Regions from separate parts of the Homo sapiens genome. Here all the other regions are linked to region 3. The links are contacts of gene promoters, found by promoter capture Hi-C in human tissues and cell types (Jung and others, 2019). All regions are on one chromosome and are shown on one strand. Each heading gives the region's core, a stretch centred on a gene start or on the middle of the fragment in contact. The rest is flanking DNA. Distances are from core to core; before and after follow the strand shown. Region 1 overlaps KCNJ8-AS1 (KCNJ8 antisense RNA 1). Region 2 overlaps KCNJ8 (potassium inwardly rectifying channel subfamily J member 8). Region 3 holds the start of CMAS (cytidine monophosphate N-acetylneuraminic acid synthetase).

What was found. Contacts are between HindIII fragments. The study calls those that stand out against the background at their distance.
Region 1: a contact is called between a fragment that was not itself captured here and the fragment with the promoter of CMAS in region 3, in 2 of the 25 tissues and cell types used here (mesendoderm cells and thymus).
Region 2: a fragment that was not itself captured here is called in contact with the fragment with the promoter of CMAS in region 3 in 4 of the 25 tissues and cell types used here (IMR-90 fibroblasts, lymphoblastoid cells, mesendoderm cells and 1 more).

Annotation. Positions count from the first base shown.
Region 1 is chr12:21,785,046-21,788,443 of GRCh38, forward strand. All of the region lies in intron 2 of KCNJ8-AS1 (KCNJ8 antisense RNA 1), which reads left to right. Among named protein-coding and RNA genes, the nearest start is that of KCNJ8, 12 kb to the left of the region's middle. The HindIII fragment of the contact is 4,164 bases long and covers 1-3,398 here.
Region 2 is chr12:21,763,023-21,766,341 of GRCh38, forward strand. KCNJ8 (potassium inwardly rectifying channel subfamily J member 8) reads right to left here. Exons shown (of 3, transcript NM_004982.4): 3 at 1,933-3,319. The coding sequence ends at 2,701. The region is part of intron 2 of KCNJ8-AS1 (KCNJ8 antisense RNA 1); the gene reads left to right. Among named protein-coding and RNA genes, the nearest start is that of KCNJ8, 10 kb to the right of the region's middle. The HindIII fragment of the contact is 5,103 bases long and covers 1-3,319 here.
Region 3 is chr12:22,044,370-22,047,610 of GRCh38, forward strand. CMAS (cytidine monophosphate N-acetylneuraminic acid synthetase) reads left to right here and starts at 1,849. Exons shown (of 8, transcript NM_018686.6): 1 at 1,849-2,194. The coding sequence starts at 1,935. RefSeq lists enhancers at 1,666-1,960, 2,276-2,981 and silencers at 1,733-2,102, 1,746-1,973. The HindIII fragment of the contact is 20,290 bases long and covers 1-3,241 here.

The sequences.
Region 1 (3,398 bases), core at 587-3,086, 260 kb before region 3:
CTTTATTATATGTCACATACTGTATTAGTCAGGGTTCTTTAGAGAACAGAGCTATTAGGATAGATGTATATATAAAGGGGAGTTTGTTAAGGACTATTAACTCACACAATCACAAGGTGAGGTTCCACAATAGGCCATGTGCAAGCTGAGGAGCAAGGAGCCAGTCCAAGTCCCAAAGCTGGAGAAACTGGAGTCCAGTGTTCGAGGGCAGGAAGCATCCAGCACGGGAGAAAGATGTAGGCTGGGAGGCTAATCCAGTCCAGTCTTTTCACATTTCTCTGCCTGCTTTATATTCTGGCTGTGCTAACAACTGATTAGATGGTGCCCACCCAGGTTAAGGGTGGGTCTACCTTTCCCAACCCACTGACTCAGATGTTAATTTCCTTTGGCAACACCCTCAGACATACCCAGGAATAATACTTTGCATCCTTCAATCCAGTCAAGTTGACACTCAGTATTAACACATACAGTATAAATCATTTATTCCCAAAACAAATAATTGACTTCACTAAATTAATCTTTATTCTAGTATAGCACACGACTAAGAGTGTGGCCTTGAAGTTGGATTGCTTGAGTTTGCCTCTGAGTTCTGCTAAACCTTGCTCAAGTTAGCCTTTATGAATCTCAATTATTAAATGGAAATAATAATATCTACCTCAGGGAAATTTTTTCAAGATCAAAAGAGATTATACTTGTAAGGCTTATATCATATCTGCTCAATGTATGTTAGCTATTATTACCCTTACAGCAAATTTTTAATTAGATGGTATATGCAATAAACATTCTACTGATATCTCAATTGATTTCATGTTGCTCTTCTCTTCTTTTCCCCAGTGATTTTTCCTCTTTCATATTGTTTGATACAAAATGATACCAGCATCACAGAGACTATAATGATATTTAAATCATAAATCAGTATGTCATCTCTATGCTTTATTGGCATATGTAGCTAAGCTTTATTAAAATATTATTTAAGCCAAGAATTTCCCATGAAATATTAGGCTTTCTATTTTTTTCCCCTACATTTTTGGCCAAAGGCCTGGATGCCTTGTGTTTCCAATATAATGTTTTTGTTACATTGAATATATGCTGGAAGTTCAGTCAAGTGGGAATAAAGAAGAGACGCTCCTATTTTCTAGTGAAAACTTGTCACCCCAAATCACTGCCTTTTGCCGTCTTCTCCTTCCTGTTTGCCAAGGACATAGGAATTGTGCTGCCTGGGCCAAGTGCTTGGCACATATAAGTGTCCACAAGTGATAGGTCACTGGGAAAAATGGCTGCTTCTGTCCAAAATGTGCTTGTAATGATCATATGTGTTAGGGATAGTGCAATTCTGTAGTGGTGGTGGTAGGGTGTTACTGCTTGTTTTGAGTGGGAAGTTGTGAGAAAATGTCTCGTAAGCTATGTGTTATGCAGTAATTCCCATAGAGAAATGAAACTTGGGCTTAAAAAGTCAATATTTGGAGTCTTATGGCAAGAGATTTTGTTTTGTTTTCATGTTTTAAAAGAAAAGTACAGCCTTCTTTAGACTTTCCCTTTCTCTGGAACAAAGATAGGTTGAGAGAACATGAGACGAAAGGCCAAGGGTTTTAGACAACAGCTCATTTTAGTGCTTATGTGATAGAGGAAAGGTTTTTCCTCTCTCAATCTCTTTTTTTTTTCCCTCAAAGGAAAATAATCAGTAGCCAGCCCAGTCTCATTAGTCTTTTTTTGGAACTACTGGTTGTGATTTGTGTTTGCCTTCTTGCTTTCACATCACTCTCTAGACTGTGCTAGTTTCTCCTCATTACTCCCAACCGGCATATACTACCTGACAACAGCTTCTTAGGTCAGAGGTAGACTCCTGACCCAAAGTGATGTGTAATGCACAGTTGTCTTTGTCATGTATAAGATTAAAAGATGAGCTGCACAAGGTAGATTCTTTGCTTGATACTTTGAAATAGACAATCTGAGAAATGGAGATAGTTGTGGACTGAGAAGCCAGAAGATTTAGTCTTAGGGATAGGAATGGTTCATAAAGGTGAGAAAGAAGTAGGCAGGGATAAGAATGGGGCAGAAGAAAAACGAGAAACTAGAGACAGGGAGTTGGAATTGAGGGAGTGGACTGTCCCTAGACAGGTCCCAGTCCTCACTTTCCCTGAGATCTCATAATTCTGCTTTTCCTAGATTCCAGTGCAGATATAACATTTCAATACCAACCTCCTCTCCACACCTACCCCATGCTGTTTAAAAGGATAGTTTCTAGAGTCAGATGGTCAGAATTTAAATCAGTGATTTGGGGATAAATCATTTAAATCCTAGCCTCAGTTTCTCATCTGTAAAGCAAGTATAATAAAGATACTTATTTCTTAAGATTTTATATTATTTTAAATATACTACATAGCTATGCACTACACCAACAAATAATATCCCTGAATTATATTTTGTTACTCAAAGATGAACACAGCAGATATTCAACAAATTATCAATCAAGATGAAATAACCAAAGTTTATTTTCACACAGCATCCCCTAGTAGGGAGACAACCACTTTTCATAGATGCCCAGTTCAACAGCTTTCATGACAATCATTATCATCCTTTCATTGAACTAAAAAGAGCCTCTTCACTGTAACCCAGCAAGATGTTGCCAGTGCTATCTTAAAGGGTAGTTTAAAAAGAAAGGTTGGCCGAGTGCGGTGGCTCACGCCTGTAATCCCAGCACTTTGGGAGGGATTACACCCAAGGCGGGTGGATTACCTGAGGTCAGGAGTTTGAGACCAACCTGGCCAACATGGCGAAACCCCATCTCTACTAAAAATACAAAAATTAGCTGGGTATGGTGGCACATGCCTGTAGTCCCAGCTACTTGGGAGGCTGAGGCAGGAGAATTATTTGAACCTGGGAGGCTGAGGTTGCAGTGAGCTGAGATCGTGCCATTGCACTCCAGCCTGGGCGACAGAGCAAGACTCTGTCTCAAAATACATAAATAAAATAAAGAAGAAGGGCTGAATCTCATATCACTGGAAACACATTTTATGATCTATTTAGAAGTGAAATTTCTTTCTAAGGTGATTTAGGTCTGAAAGATACACTTACAGATTACTGTAAGAATATTTCTCTTTATGCCATCTATTTTAACTACCTGCATTTATCTATGCATTAGTGATATAAAGTTTCATACCAACTATAGCCTTATTTAAGGCAGCAAGTTAAGCTAAAATGTGAGTGTATATGTGTGTGCATGCAGTGCACACACACGTACTGAGGGGTTGGAGGATAGGTTTAGGTTGTAACCTATAAAATAGATTTAACAGACAGTTTAATTGATTCAAATAGCTGGAAATTCTGTTTACGTCCAAGTTCAAATAACTGATGAACATTTTGGCTGTCTGAAAAAGTTTAAGAATTTTAAAAATTAC
Region 2 (3,319 bases), core at 820-3,319, 280 kb before region 3:
GCAGTGAGCTGAGATCGTGCCACTGCACTCCAGCCTGGGCGACAGAGTGAGACTCTGTCTGCAAAAAAGAAAAAAAAAAAAGAAAATGAAAAAGGCAGAAGAGGGCTTTAAGAAGAGGTGTCATGTAGTTTGACTTGTGATTTAAAAAAATATTGTGGCTGCTGTATGAATTATGGAGGTGGAAGAAAGGGTAGAAGCAGAGAACCAAAATACTGAATATAAAATAATATTTAAACACAATATGTAAGTCAAAATCATACATGTACACATATATATGTACAGAGTCCGTCTTATCTTCTAAAACTATGTAGTTCTCAAAATTGCTTACCCAGTGAAATATGTTTTAGCAAAAATAGGTCAGAAAATCATTTTAATACTCTCTAAAACATTTTCAGACTTTTAGAAATTGTTGATAGAACCTTTTGTTTGGTGTGGCTGTCTCTAGCTAAATGATGTCCCTGTCTGAGCCACAGCTTGACATAGGGAGCCCCTCATAACCTTTCGTTGACATGCCCATTATATTGACAGTCATTAGGTCCTTGACACTCAGCGTTTAGTTGCAGCTGGAAGGTGGCTGGGGGAACTTCCCGTACTCCATAGCTAGCTTTGCCCCTGGTGCCAGGGAATTCTCTAGACCCTGGACTCAGAAATTTTGCATCTCAGCTCCACTATGTCCTGACATCACCTGTTGCACAGCCTGTGTCACCTCTACAAAGTTGGGCTACTACTGAGCAGCAGGAAGGCACTATCCATGTTCTTACTGCTGGATTGTGTGGCAGCTACCTCTGGGTCTGCTCAGCTGCCCTGGGGTGGGAAGGTGGGAACCTGCATCTGTTCCAGAACTGCTTTGAGGTCTGATATCCACCTCCATAGTTGCTGTTGGGTTAAGTTTTATTAAGATAGTCTTTAGCAACCTAGACAGAAATGTTTTAATATTCAAACAATTGGTACAGATGCATGCATATATACAGTATCCTTGCTTGGACTATGAAGGAAGTGGTGGAGTAAAGAGAATTGGTCATATTCTGGATATATTTTGAAGGCAGAGCCGAGAGGTAATTGCTAATGGATGGCATGTAGGGTATGAAAGAGGCAGCAAGAATGACTTCCAGGTCATGGCTTGATGCCTGAGTGATTGGAAGAAAGACTGGGAGGAGGGCAGCTTTTGTGAGTGAGAATGAAGTATTTGGTTTTAGACCTAGTAAGTTTGAAATGCTTGTTCAATCTCCAAGTGGAGCCTCAGGTGCCTGTTTGATCTGTGAGTCTGGAGTTCAGAGGAACAGTTAGAACCCTTTCAGGAATGATTAACTCAATGACGTGATAAACAGTTTCTGTTCACCTGGTTGGAATCATGAGTCTTAAGATAGAACATTTCATAATTACCTATTTCAATGTTCATAAATACAAACCCCCAAATCTGTGTGAAAGATTTCACAATAGCTCAGCTTTCTGATGTTTAGCTATAAAATGTAAGAATAAAAGCATATATAGTTTATTAACCTAGTACTTCTCTCTCCTGTCTCATCCCTTCCTTGAAGAAGCAGGCACTAAATATGCTTAAATGAAGCTTTGATAGAAAATCTCACTTTAGCAAATGAGATGATGCTAAATCTATAAATGCCAAGCCTAAATTCAGATACTACTGGGAAGGAAGTATAGTTTTAAGATGGGAGATTGAAGATTAAAAAAAAAAGCTTATAGGATTTTTATGGTATGTCAGGCTTAGATTGAAAAACCAAGAGGACATTTTAAAACCTGAAATAAAATCAAAACAAAGCAAAAAAAAGCTAGTTTTGGAGCAAACAGACTTGAGAGAGAGGAATCTCAGAGTGAGTGTTATCACTTTGACATCTCTTTTACATGGCTCTAAAAACATCTTGAGTTTTAACTTGGGATGATTTTGTGAAAGAGGAATCACAAAACTACAGTGAGTACAAAGAAAATGTTTTAATAAAATATTCAATACAGTATTTCCCTGTGGGGATTCTAGAAGAAGAAGTGAGATGCTGAAGGAAGTGACTGTCACTGTGGGGAACCCAGTCCTAAATGAGACAAGACTTAGCTTTCCTTCAAAGACACCTTGTCCAGCTCTGCCCAACAGGCCGCAATGAGATGGACCAGGAAACCTTCAGGAGTCACCGACAGACAAAGCGAATGAACTGAATCCACTTACAAACAGATCCACTTAAGCAGTTTTTGCCTCAGGCTTCCTACCAAATGCAGTTATCATGGAGACAGGAGAAGGCTGATGTACAAAACGCATTAACATGATTTTGTTTTTTCCCCTCCTATTCTATTTGCATTTCCAGAGTGATCATTAGTAACACAGCGATCTGGGTTTCACCAACTAAGCATTTCAAACAGACTCATTTCTTGACCAAATTTTGTGCTCAAGGCCTGTTACTATTAGTGTAATTCTTGTGTTTCAAATTGAGAGAAACGAGCATACCCACCCCTGCACATAACTTAAGTATATCACTGCGAATTCTACATGTATGAAACAAGCATAAGCCATGAATCCTCCACTTGGTGTGTTACTTTTTATTACTACAGAAAGTGCTGTTGCTTGAATATGAATATCATTTAGTGTAATAAAATGTAGAAGGACACATTATTGTGTTCCAGCTCTGGTTCAGTCTGGCAGTGCCCAGCATAAACCGTCAAAACTTGATAAAAGACTGTCTTGGGGTTATCTTGCTGTCATGATTCCGATGTGTTTTGATTTCCTTCTGGAGTCATAAATTGCACCTTTGGTACCATGAGGGAAGAATTGTTCCTTCGGATAGAATTGTTCCTCCTCATGGAATTGTTTCTTCTCATGGAGTTGCGCTTCCTCAGAGAATTTTGATGAGACAGTTCACTCTTTTGGAGGGTCTGAATAAGGATGGAAGGTTTCTCATCCAGCTCTCGGGCACTGCACCGTGGAGCAGCTACTTTAACAGTGTTGCCAAATTTGGAGTAATCCACAGAATACACTCCTTCTTCCTCAGTCACAATGGACACAAAGCGGTGGCCCCATTGGATCTCCTCAGCAATGTAGGAGGTTCGTGCTTGTGTGGTGATGCCAGTAGTTTCAACCACTCCTTCCAGAATAACTATGACCTCCAAGTCTTGGTTGGCCAGGTCAGTTGCTGAGATGTCATACAGGGGACTGCGCTTGTCAATCACGTGGCAGATGATCAAAGGGGCCACCAGAAAAATGTTATTGCTCTCGATTGGGTTATCAACAGGAATGTCCAGTTGGTGAATAGGAACCACCTCCCCTTCAGGTGTAGTTGTTTTCTTGACCACCTGGATGCGCACAGAGGCACTAATGATC
Region 3 (3,241 bases), core at 599-3,098:
GTAGGGGTCCTCACATGACTACCAAAAGCTCAGTGCTGGTGTCTCTGAGGCACAGCAACTGCAAAGGCCCTACTCAAAGAGCCAGTGTATGGGGGCAAGTTGTCCCCTTGCCCTTCAGTGCTGGAATGGCTCATAGAGCCTGCCCCTTTCCCAAGCATGGCATTGATGTCTGCTCACAGCCTCCCTTATCTGTGTCTGCACGAAGCACCTTCTTCCAGCACCAGTCCCAGGAAGGGCTGGGCCCTCAGTTAATTCACAGACTAAGAGATGTAAAGTATCCAGTACCTCTCATAGGACCCAAAACATCAAAGACTTCTTCTCTCCCCTCAAAAATGGCCAAGACCTGAGAAGTACAAAATCCTTTTGCCCTCTGGGAGAAGGCAAGCCGACACACTACAATCCATTCTTTCTGTTTGTATCAGCCTCCATCTCAGAAATGTAAAAGACTCTACTTCCAAATATAGGCTTGCAAACATGCTGAAAGACAAAATGCATGCTAGGTCAGAGATGCCTGCTTTAAAGTCTCTTTTTTTTTTTTTCCTAAGAGAGGTGTGTGTGGGTGTATGTCTTTGAGCCTCTTGGCTGGATCAGGGTTTAAATGCTCAGGCGTGGCGGCTCATGCCTATAATCCCAGCACTTTGAGAGGCTGAGGCGGGCAGATCACTTGAGGTCAGGAGTTCAAGACCAGCCTGGCCAACCTGGTGAAACCCCCAACTCAACTAAAAATACAAAAATTATCTGGGTGTGGTGGTGCCCCTCTGTAATCCCAGCTACTCAGGACGCTTGAGAATGGGTGGCAGAGGGTTGCAGCGAGCCGAGATTGTGCCACTGCACTCCAGCCTTCTGGGGGACACAGTGAGAATCTGTCTCAAAAAAAAAAAAGAGTTTAAATGATGCCTCCAGAATTCTTTCTCTTTAATCCCTACATGTCATTGTTCTGCTTCCTCAGGGAGAACATCAGTCTTCCAGCCCATTTCAGAACAGCAAAGCCCCCCTGCCGCCCTACCCTACCCTTGCCCTGAGGCTTCAGGTTAACAAGGTCCTTAGCACCCAGTCAGCACGAGAAAGATCCTTTCTTTCCAAGACTCTCTGGAAAGGACTCCAGTGGGCTCTGCTTGGTCATATGCCTGTCCCTAGACCACAGGTGTGTTAAGGAAAATGGGGTGCGTAGATGGACCAGCTTGGGTCACACACAGTGCAGAGAATGTGAGGGAAACCCTCACCGGATGAGAGAGGGATCAATTCCTAAAAGGAAAAGATTTTTAGCAGACAACAAAACAAAACCAAAAAACCAAGTGTCGGCCACACTAGAGGTGACCAGTAAAGCTGACTTCCAAATTTCTGCTGCTAGGGAATGCTGATGTCGATCAAAGTGCGGAGAGCATATGAAAAATGGAGTTTTTAAAACGTTGAGTTTAAGGCGCCTGTAGGATATTTGAATGAGCTGGTCAGTAATTTCTTGGAAAAAATGACCCAGGGGCATTAAAAAAAGGTGTATGTTTAAAATGTACATTTTAAAATATAAAATGGATTCGTGTCAGGGTGCATCAAGGTATGCAACGGGAAACCCACCACAATTCTAAAGTGGGGAAGTTCTTCAGCAATTATAAATACTTTTTTTCTTTTTTAATTTTAGAAATTTACAGACACTTGCAAGCACCCCAAAAGCCGCACTTCCTCCAAATATCTCTGGACTCCCACTGCTTGACTTAGTTTTGGGGTCACCTCATCAGAGCCTACTTGGCCTACTGGCCCCAGACGAGGCGGCCGCGGACTACAATTCCCAGCGAGCACCGCGAGGGGCGGGGGAGGGGGCGGGGCGAGGGACGGCCGCGCGCGCCAGCTGCCAGGCGGGGATCGGGCGGCGCCGAGCTGAGGTGGTGAGGGACTAGCTCCCGGATGTGGAGAAGCTGGGGAGAAGGCGTGGGAGGAAGATGGACTCGGTGGAGAAGGGGGCCGCCACCTCCGTCTCCAACCCGCGGGGGCGACCGTCCCGGGGCCGGCCGCCGAAGCTGCAGCGCAACTCTCGCGGCGGCCAGGGCCGAGGTGTGGAGAAGCCCCCGCACCTGGCAGCCCTAATTCTGGCCCGGGGAGGCAGCAAAGGCATCCCCCTGAAGAACATTAAGCACCTGGCGGGGGTCCCGCTCATTGGCTGGGTCCTGCGTGCGGCCCTGGATTCAGGGGCCTTCCAGAGGTGCGCATGTGCGAGAGTGGGCGGCGCGGCCTGGGCGGGGGTCGGGAGAGGGAGTCGGGCTGCTGGAGGGGCTGGGGCCTCCGGGGCCACCGCTCTTGGAAGGGGGCCATCTCTCATGCCAGGGATGTGCAAGATCCGGGGTGCCTGGGGCCGGGCTGAGAGCCCAGGAGGAAGGGCTCCAGCTCCTTCCTTGTTCCGTAGCTGCCAATGGTCATAACCTGGGACAGTTCCTGTCTCCGCCCTTGAGAATCATCCGTAAAAGGGGAGATTACACCTCCCCAACCGTCCCCTCCTCCCGGGTTGACCTTACGGGGAAAAGTAAAGGAGGCCACCCCGGTGCAACATCTGTGATAATATGTGAACTTCTTTGGATGGGGGCCATCGAAGCTCCCCTGTTGCTCAGCCTCTGATAACTGCTTGGTGCTGCTCGATTAGGGAGGCATCAGGTTCATGAATGGAGTTGAGTGTCGGGGTGTCAGAGCTGAATTTCAAGCTCAGCTTGGAGATCTTTTCCTAACCTTTGAAAAATACTCCAGCTATCTTCCTGTGAGTCAGCACAATCTAGAAAACTCCCTACATTTATAAATACGTGAGACTCAGTGGGAAGGTGTACAACTGACTGTTTTATGATATATTAATACTTACAAATCATTTAATCATACCTTTGGAACCTCGCCTGCCCTATGGACAGTTTTAATTATGCGTAATTTAGATACATTGCCAAATTGGTCAGGAGTTACAAGCTGATGTTATTCATAAAAGAAGGGAGATCGAATTCTGTGCCAAGAATGAATTTACACATATAGCTTCAACCTAACTACATTTGAATGTGTTGTTATTGTGGAAATTAATTTATGTTAACCTTTTGATGTTTCGATTTTTAAAGAGATGACTGTTTTTGAAGTCATCTCTTTTTCTTTTTGAACCTATATTTGCTTACCCATATTAATATATGGGTAAATGATTTTCATTTAACCAGTCTTGTTCAAAAACGGGAGATGCCAAAAAAGTATAAATATACTAATTTTCTTAATGTTTCAACCCAAA